Linked DNA regions of Homo sapiens: region 2 is linked to region 1. Evidence: promoter capture Hi-C in 16 types of primary human blood cells and fetal thymus (Javierre and others, 2016). All regions are on one chromosome and are shown on one strand. The core of a region is centred on a gene start or on the middle of the fragment in contact, and the rest is flanking DNA. Distances in the headings are between cores, read along the strand shown.

What was found. Contacts are between HindIII fragments. The CHiCAGO score rates a contact against its expected background, and 5 or more counts as called.
Region 2: a fragment that was not itself captured here is called in contact with the fragment with the promoter of DKK4 in region 1 in 2 of 17 cell types (megakaryocytes and endothelial precursors); the score reaches 5.7 in megakaryocytes.

The regions. Positions count from the first base shown.
Region 1 is chr8:42,375,592-42,379,426 of GRCh38, reverse strand. It overlaps DKK4 (dickkopf Wnt signaling pathway inhibitor 4), which reads left to right and starts at 2,198. Exons shown (of 4, transcript NM_014420.3): 1 at 2,198-2,492; 2 at 3,597-3,747. The coding sequence starts at 2,382. The HindIII fragment of the contact is 5,398 bases long and covers 1,494-3,835 here.
Region 2 is chr8:42,145,861-42,149,695 of GRCh38, reverse strand. No RefSeq gene overlaps it. Among named protein-coding and RNA genes, the nearest start is that of AP3M2, 5.3 kb to the left of the region's middle. The HindIII fragment of the contact is 901 bases long and covers 1,767-2,667 here.

The sequences.
Region 1 (3,835 bases), core at 949-3,448:
CTCTCTCTCTCTCTCTCTCTCTCTCTCTCTCTCTCTCTCTCTCTCTCTATATATATATATATATATATATATATAGGCTTAATCTCCTGGGCTTAAATGATTCTCCCACCTCAGCTTCCTGAGTTGCTGAAACTACAGGTGAACACCACTATGACTGGCTAATTTTTTTTTTTTTTGAGATGGAGTCTCACTCTGTTGCCGAGGCTGGAGTGCAGTGGCACCGTGTTGGCTCACTGCAACCTCGGTCTCCTAGGTTCAAACAATTCTCCTGCCTCAGCCTCCCGAGTAGCTGGGATTACAGGTGACCACCACCACGCCCGACTAGTTTTTATATTTTTAGTAGAGACAGGGTTTCACCATATTGGCCAGGCTGGTCTCGAACTCCTGACCTCAGGTGATCCATCCACCTCAGCCTCCCAAAGTGGTGAGATTACAGGCGTCAGCCACCGCACGCGGCCTACTTTTTTTTTTTTTTTTTTTTTTGTGGAGACAGGATCTCAATATGTTGCCCAGGCTCGTCTTGAACTCCTGAGCTCAGGAGATCTTCCCACCTTGGCCTCCCAAAGTGCTGGGATTACAGGTGTGAGCCACTGTGCCCGGCCATTGGAGTTTCAAATTTTATTCCTAACATGTAATCCGAGGCTCTGTTCCATGCCAAGTGCTCTAAGTGCTCAGTGGCTGTTTGTGCCGTGTTACAGGAGTTCCCGTCAGTTCTTTCGCCTGTGTATATTGCCAGGGGCCTTTGGTAACCTGAAATTCCCTTACAGTGAGGCAGCAGGAAGCAGAGAAACCCGGCAGAGACAGAACCCTGGGGGCTCTTTCCTTTATCCTTGGTCATAATTGTACAACTTGAAAATAAATTCTGTAACACCCCTAGTCACCAGGGTTATCATGCTATCAAAGGGTGTTGTTTGATGTCAGTTTAAGGGATTAAAACAAGTAACTTCCATACGAGAGGTAGACAAGCAATACCAACCCAAGGACAAGGGCCAAGTAGTAGGAAGGCTCGAATCACCTGCATCACCCTCGGAATGGCACTGCATTACTCAAAATTGAGAATGTTCCCATGCACAGAATGCTGAGATTCATGTCAATGAATTGATGTTAGGTTGTTCTGCAGGAAAATGTAGTAAATAATAAGATTATCATTTATGGCATAGAAAAAATGCATTTTAGATGACTCTATGCTAAGAGCAATGAAACAATGAAGAGAAAAAATGATTTTTTGATCCAGATCTAGATTGTTCTACCCTTAAAGTATTTAAGACAGTGATAAGCACATGTCTAAATTACCTGACTAATAGTCCAAATGGAAAAAAATCAGACAGGAAAGGGATGAAGCAGAAGTTTTAAAAAATTCGTATTAGGAAAATTGGAAATACATGAAATTTCATCTGAAATCAGCCAGAGACTTGGATCCTTGTTCTGCTTAAGTGAGTTTTACATAATGCAACACAAATTAAATATGTTGCTGATAAAATGGACCCAAAGCTTCGTACTGAATTGTGTAAAATGCGCTATCATTGTTCCCACCATTGAAAAATGGGATTTTCATAAATTACATTATTTTCCTAATAACCCTAACTTCAAACAGTTCAATTTTCATTTAAAGGAAAGTAATTTCCCAAATGGCATTTAGTCAGAACAGGTGCTGTTACGTTCACAACTTTTAAGCGGTTGGGATTTTGACATCTGGATGCCAGAGCTAATCAGGGGGCGTTTTCTCTTTTTCTATCTGTCCTCACTATCTGAAGCCCAGTTTACAGCTTCTCAGTGTATTTTGTACCTCATTAGTTTTTGGCATCCTCTATAGCATATTGGCCAGTATGATTCATCCTTTCTTTGAGCACAATTAGCTGTGAAAACAGATCTTAGGGCAGACTCCCTCCCTACCCCCAAAGGATTACTGAAGGTAGGAAATGCAGGTGATTATCAGAGTTTGCCTTTGATACAGACATCCTGCTCTGCCGTGGCCCTTTGAACTAACTTTGATATGCAATAATTAAGAGGGATTGAACCCCTGGAGGAGAAGCCGCATGGCCCTGCCTCTTCTCTCCTTCTATTGAGTCCTTGTTTTGAACTATTGATCAAACAGATTTGAAGGGATTTGTTGAAGCCTGTGTGGGGCAGGAGGAAGGAACGGAGCGGGGAGGAGGCACATCTGGTTATAAATAGTTTCAGGAGGAACCTGCTGGTCAGACTTTGCTCAGCCGATTTCACGCACCTTACTCAGACTAAGGTTTACTTCTTTCAGAAAAAGCAGTGACAAACAGACGACGTGCTGAGCTGCCAGCTTAGTGGAAGCTCTGCTCTGGGTGGAGAGCAGCCTCGCTTTGGTGACGCACAGTGCTGGGACCCTCCAGGAGCCCCGGGATTGAAGGATGGTGGCGGCCGTCCTGCTGGGGCTGAGCTGGCTCTGCTCTCCCCTGGGAGCTCTGGTCCTGGACTTCAACAACATCAGGAGCTCTGCTGACCTGCATGGGGCCCGGAAGGTAAGGCTGCTAGGGAGGGGGGCGAGGTACGGGACTGCTGACAGCTGGGGTGTTTTGTTTAGGCTTTAGTAAGTCATTCTGATTCATGTATGAAATGTCTTACCTAGCAGGTAAATTGAATTGGTTTCGGATTTGGGAGGGCATCCTGGTAGGATCAGTGGCCTTAGTGTGAATGTATGAAATAAACACAGTGGCTTTTCACATCATTCGGCCATACGTTTGTCTATAAATCACGAAATAAACGAACACTTTGGAAGCTCTACTATGTGCCAGCTCTTTTACATGTAATACGTCATGTACTCTTCCTCACAATTTGAGATAGGTGAAACATTCCCTAATTCCAGATGAGGAAATAAGACTCAGAGATGTTGAAGAGCTTACCCAAGCTCACACAGCCAGCAAGCAAACATGGGAATGAGAATTTAAACAGAGGGCCATGATGCATTGCCTTGTCACCATCTAACTTCACAGAGAGAGTTGTTTTAGGAATCGCTTTATGTATGTGTATATGTTATTATATATCGTATAGATTATTACATATATCATATATGCTACACCTACGTTGTATGTCTATGTAGAAGCATCAACTGTGTATGAGAACAATTGATCTTCGGTATCTCTTTCTCTATGTCAATGAGGCATCATTGAAAATCAAAGGACAGTTCACTTAGGGAAGGGTCTCTAAGCTAAATGTGATTCACTAGAGTAAAAAATCAAATAGGAATGCCACAAACATCAATAGTATGTTTAATGAAACTGTAGCCAGCTTCTAGAGTTAAGATATATTGAAAATCTCATACTCACCTGTTAAGACACACATAGGAAAACATTTTTTCCCATTTTCACAAAGAGCACAGGAAAACTAAATTCTGAGTTAAGTCAATTTTTCAAACTCAAATAGCCTTTGCAGCGCCTAGGTCTCCCCGGGTGACATGAGCTTCCCTTTGTGGGAGAAAACCATTTCCACTGGAGAGTAAGATGCTGCCCAGGGTTTGTCACAGCGCCACTGTCCTTTGGCTCCCTCCGCCTCCTGCCTTCAATAATAAGTCATCTTCCATCGTGTTGGGGGTTTCCTAGCCTTGTGATAACAGATTCCCTCCACAGGGCTCACAGTGCCTGTCTGACACGGACTGCAATACCAGAAAGTTCTGCCTCCAGCCCCGCGATGAGAAGCCGTTCTGTGCTACATGTCGTGGGTTGCGGAGGAGGTGCCAGCGAGATGCCATGTGCTGCCCTGGGACACTCTGTGTGAACGGTGAGCGACATAACGCCAACAGTGGTTTTTAAACCGAAGGTAGTGTCTAAGCCCCATAGACTAGAATATTCCAGGGTAGGCACTCTCT
Region 2 (3,835 bases), core at 968-3,467, 230 kb after region 1:
TACCTGAGACTCGGTAATTTATAATATTAAAAAAAAAGAGGTTTATTTGGCTCATGGTTCTGTAGGCTATGCAAGCGTGGCACCAGCATCTGCTCAGCTTCTGGTGAGGCCTCAGGAAGCTTTTACTCATGGCAGAAGGTGAAAGGGGAGCGGGCAGTTGCATGGTGAAAGCAGGAGTGAGAGAGAGGAGGTGCCAGGCTCCTTTAAACAACCAGCTCTCTCATAAACCAACAGAGTGAGAACTCACTCATTACCATGGGGAGGGCACCAAGCCATTCACGAGGGATCCAACCCCATGACACCTGCTAGACCCACCTCCAAAACTGGGGATCACATTTCAACATGAGATTTGGAGGGGACAAACATCCAAAGTATATCAATATATCTGTGAGCTCCATTAACTATCCAAGTGGAGATGTTGAGAAGGCAGCTGGACATATAAGTCCAGGGTTCAGGAGAGTGGGCTGAGCTTGAGATATAAATTTGGGTGTTTTCAGTATATGGATATTTAAAGTAGTAGGACCTGTTGAGATGACCGAGGGAAGGAGTGTGGAGAGATAAGAGAACCAGATTCCAGGGACACTCCAAATTTAAGAGTTCACATAAGAGAGGAGGATCTGAAATCATTTAATCCCCCCAACTACTCTAAAATGAATTACCGTTGTGATCCCCTTTTCGTAGATGAGGAAGCTGCAAAGACAGCTTAAATAACTGCCCAAGGTCGAACAGCAAAGCTGTGATTCAAGGACGTTGGAAGATCTGAGCAGAATGGCTCAGATTCCACACTTCCTACCTCTAAGCCCAGGAACCCATTGAAGAAATGTGAAGCAGGAGAGTGGCACACTTTCAGATTTCCATTTCAGAAAGACTATGTGTGCAGGATGGACTGTAACAGGCTGAGCCTGGAGGCTGGGAGGTTATTTAGACAATTGCAGTAATCCCTAGGAGAGAGCTAGTGCCTGGAGCCATGAGGCAGGGATTAGAGAGAAGTGGACACCTTCCAGAGAAGATAGGGATTAGGGATTAATGGAATGTCAGTGGTGAGGCAGAGTAGGTTTCTGATTCGGGCAATGACATGGATGGAAGCATCATGTGTTGAGATGGGGATCACTGGAAGAGAGGCCCCTTGCGGGGAGGGCGCATGAATCCAGTATATAGCAATGCCTGGGGGCATGAACCAAGTTGACACTCAAGTGTTTGTTGAATTGAATCAAGTAACATAGAATCTGAGAGCTCATGTAATACTTTCCCATGACTTTAAGAGAGGCCACAGGAAATCATTGACAAATGATAAGTCAGTCTATTTTGTGCATAAAAATCTCTAGGGAAAGATTTCCTAAAGCTGCCACTCACAAACCATTCTAATGTTTAACAGCTCTCACTGCTGAGAAATTTTTCTACCATAAAAAGTTAATCCTAGCTATCAGGATTCACTGGGAACCATTTATTTATTTATTTATTTATATTTCATTTTTGGTCTGAGACAAGAGAGGCCTTGCCCACCCAGAAAGACATTTTTTTCAGAGCTGCAACATCATTTCTGCGTCTTTGCCACTTCCTCCCTGTTCACACGTATGCTCTCCTTGCAACACACCTCACTACCGGTCATGCACTGAAGCAATGGAATGCCTTCTCCTCATGCCTCCCTTCTCACGGAGCCCTCTACCTGGCACATGTTTGTCTTTTACTCATCCTATTTTGGAAATTCGCTCCAGCCCGCAAGGCCCAGCCATATGTTTCCTCCTCCACAAAGTCTGTTTGAAGCTTCTTGCCCCCACACTGGGAGTAATGTTTCCCTCCTCTGTGATCAAAGAGCATTTCCCAGCTCTTTCATGTAACCTACAGAGCGGGCACACTCTGCCATGCATCAACATGTGCATCTGCTGACCAAATCTGGATTCTAAGCTCTTTGGGAAACCACAGTGTGTCTCACAATGTCTAGTGAACAATCACCTATTAAACTAACAGTGATGGAGTGCTTACAACCTCCTGGACACTGCGGGTACAAAGATGCGGTACTCTATGTTACTTCAAGGAACATACAGTCAAGTGGAGGGGGGATTTAAAGTGTAGACTGCTCCCCTTATCAAAACCAGGCCGGGCGCCGTGGCTCACACCTGTAATCCCAGCACTTTGGGAGGCCAAGGCGGGTGGATCACCTGAAGTCAAGAGTTCGAGACCAGCCTGGCCAACATGGTGAAACCTTGTCTCTACTAAAAATAGAAAAAAAAAAAATTAGCCCAGTGTGGTGGCATGCACCTATAGTCCCAGCTACTCGGGGAGGCTGAGGCAGGAGAATCACTTGAACCCAGGAGGCAGAAGTTGCAGTGAGCCAAGATCACGCCACTGCACTCCAGCCTGGGCCACAGAGGGAGACTCCATCTCAAAAAAAAAAAAAAAAAAAAACCAGCTCCTTTAAGCCTGGCCATGAAAGGAGCCTGTCCATGTGGAGAGGAGAGACTGAACCTGACGCCCTACTCTAGAAAAAGAGATCCGCTTTCCCCTTAGGGACCTCTCACTGCTGGCTGCAGCTCCCACCACCATACTGGTTTTGGGAGGGTCAGTATCCCTTTAACTCTTCAATGGCATTTAAGACACACTATTTTTTGTTGTTTGTTTAATTTCCTATAGCAGAGCAGAGACCAGGATGGACATTTATCCAAAGCTTGTCTAAAGACTTGAAGATAGGCCGAGCACAGTGGCTCACGCCTGTAATCCCAACATTTTGGGAGACAGAGGTGGGCGGATCACTTGAGGTCAGGAGTTCGAGACCAGCCTGGCCAACCCATTTCTACTAAAAATACAAAAATTAGCTGGGCATGGTGGCGGCCACCTGTAATCCCAGCTACTCGGGAGGCCGAGGCATGAGAATGGCTTGAACCTGGAAGGCAGAGTTTGCAGTGAGCCAAGATCGTGCCATTGCACTCCAGCCTGGGTGATAGAACGAGACTCAGTCTCAAAAAAAAAAAAAAAAAAGACTTGAAGATAACAGAAAGGAAGTGAGCAGAAAGAGTAACATGCAACTAAAAATGTAGCTCACAAATGTGATCCAATCCGGGCATCTTAGATGTCTCTATGGGATGCACACCTGCTTCCAGGGGACAGGGATGCTGTGTACCTCCTCTCACCTAGGAGCCCCGGCAAGCCATCTGGAGTTCCTGAAATCCAAACCTTGTCTGACAAGGAGACAGCAGCCTCCCTCTCCTGGTGGCCTCAGGCTGGCCTCCTGGTTCCAGTCTCCTGAGGGACATAATTATTGCACCAAATGGTCCCTTCCCCAGATGATTAGCCACAAGAATATCCAATCATGAGGCCACACCCTCACCTCAGGGGCATGGCATTATTCTGTGGCTTGTTAGTAGACGCTCCGCGGTTCTTTCTCTGCACTCTCCCTAGATGGCTTCATGAGTGTAATACCCTTTTAATGATGACAGCTCTCGATGTATCTCCAACCTCAACTGTTTTCCCCAGCTTAGTAAACAATACCACCATCCATCCAGCTACTCAAACCCATGAGTCATCCTCAAGTCCTCCATTACCCTCATCCCCTCATGTAATCAGAAGCATACCCTGTGGATTCTATCTTCAATGTACATCAGGAATTCAGAATCTCTCCAATGCAATGTCATCACTTTAGTCCAGGCCACAATCACCACTTCCCTGAAAGATGATAACCGCTGCCATACTGGTCTCCCATTTCTACTCTCACCCCTCCAATCCATTTTCTATACAGCAGCAAAAGTGAGCTTTTAAAACTGTAAACAGTTATGTGCAGCTTGGAACCCATCAATGCATTCCCATGGCATTAAATCAAAAATGCCTTTACTACTTCTTT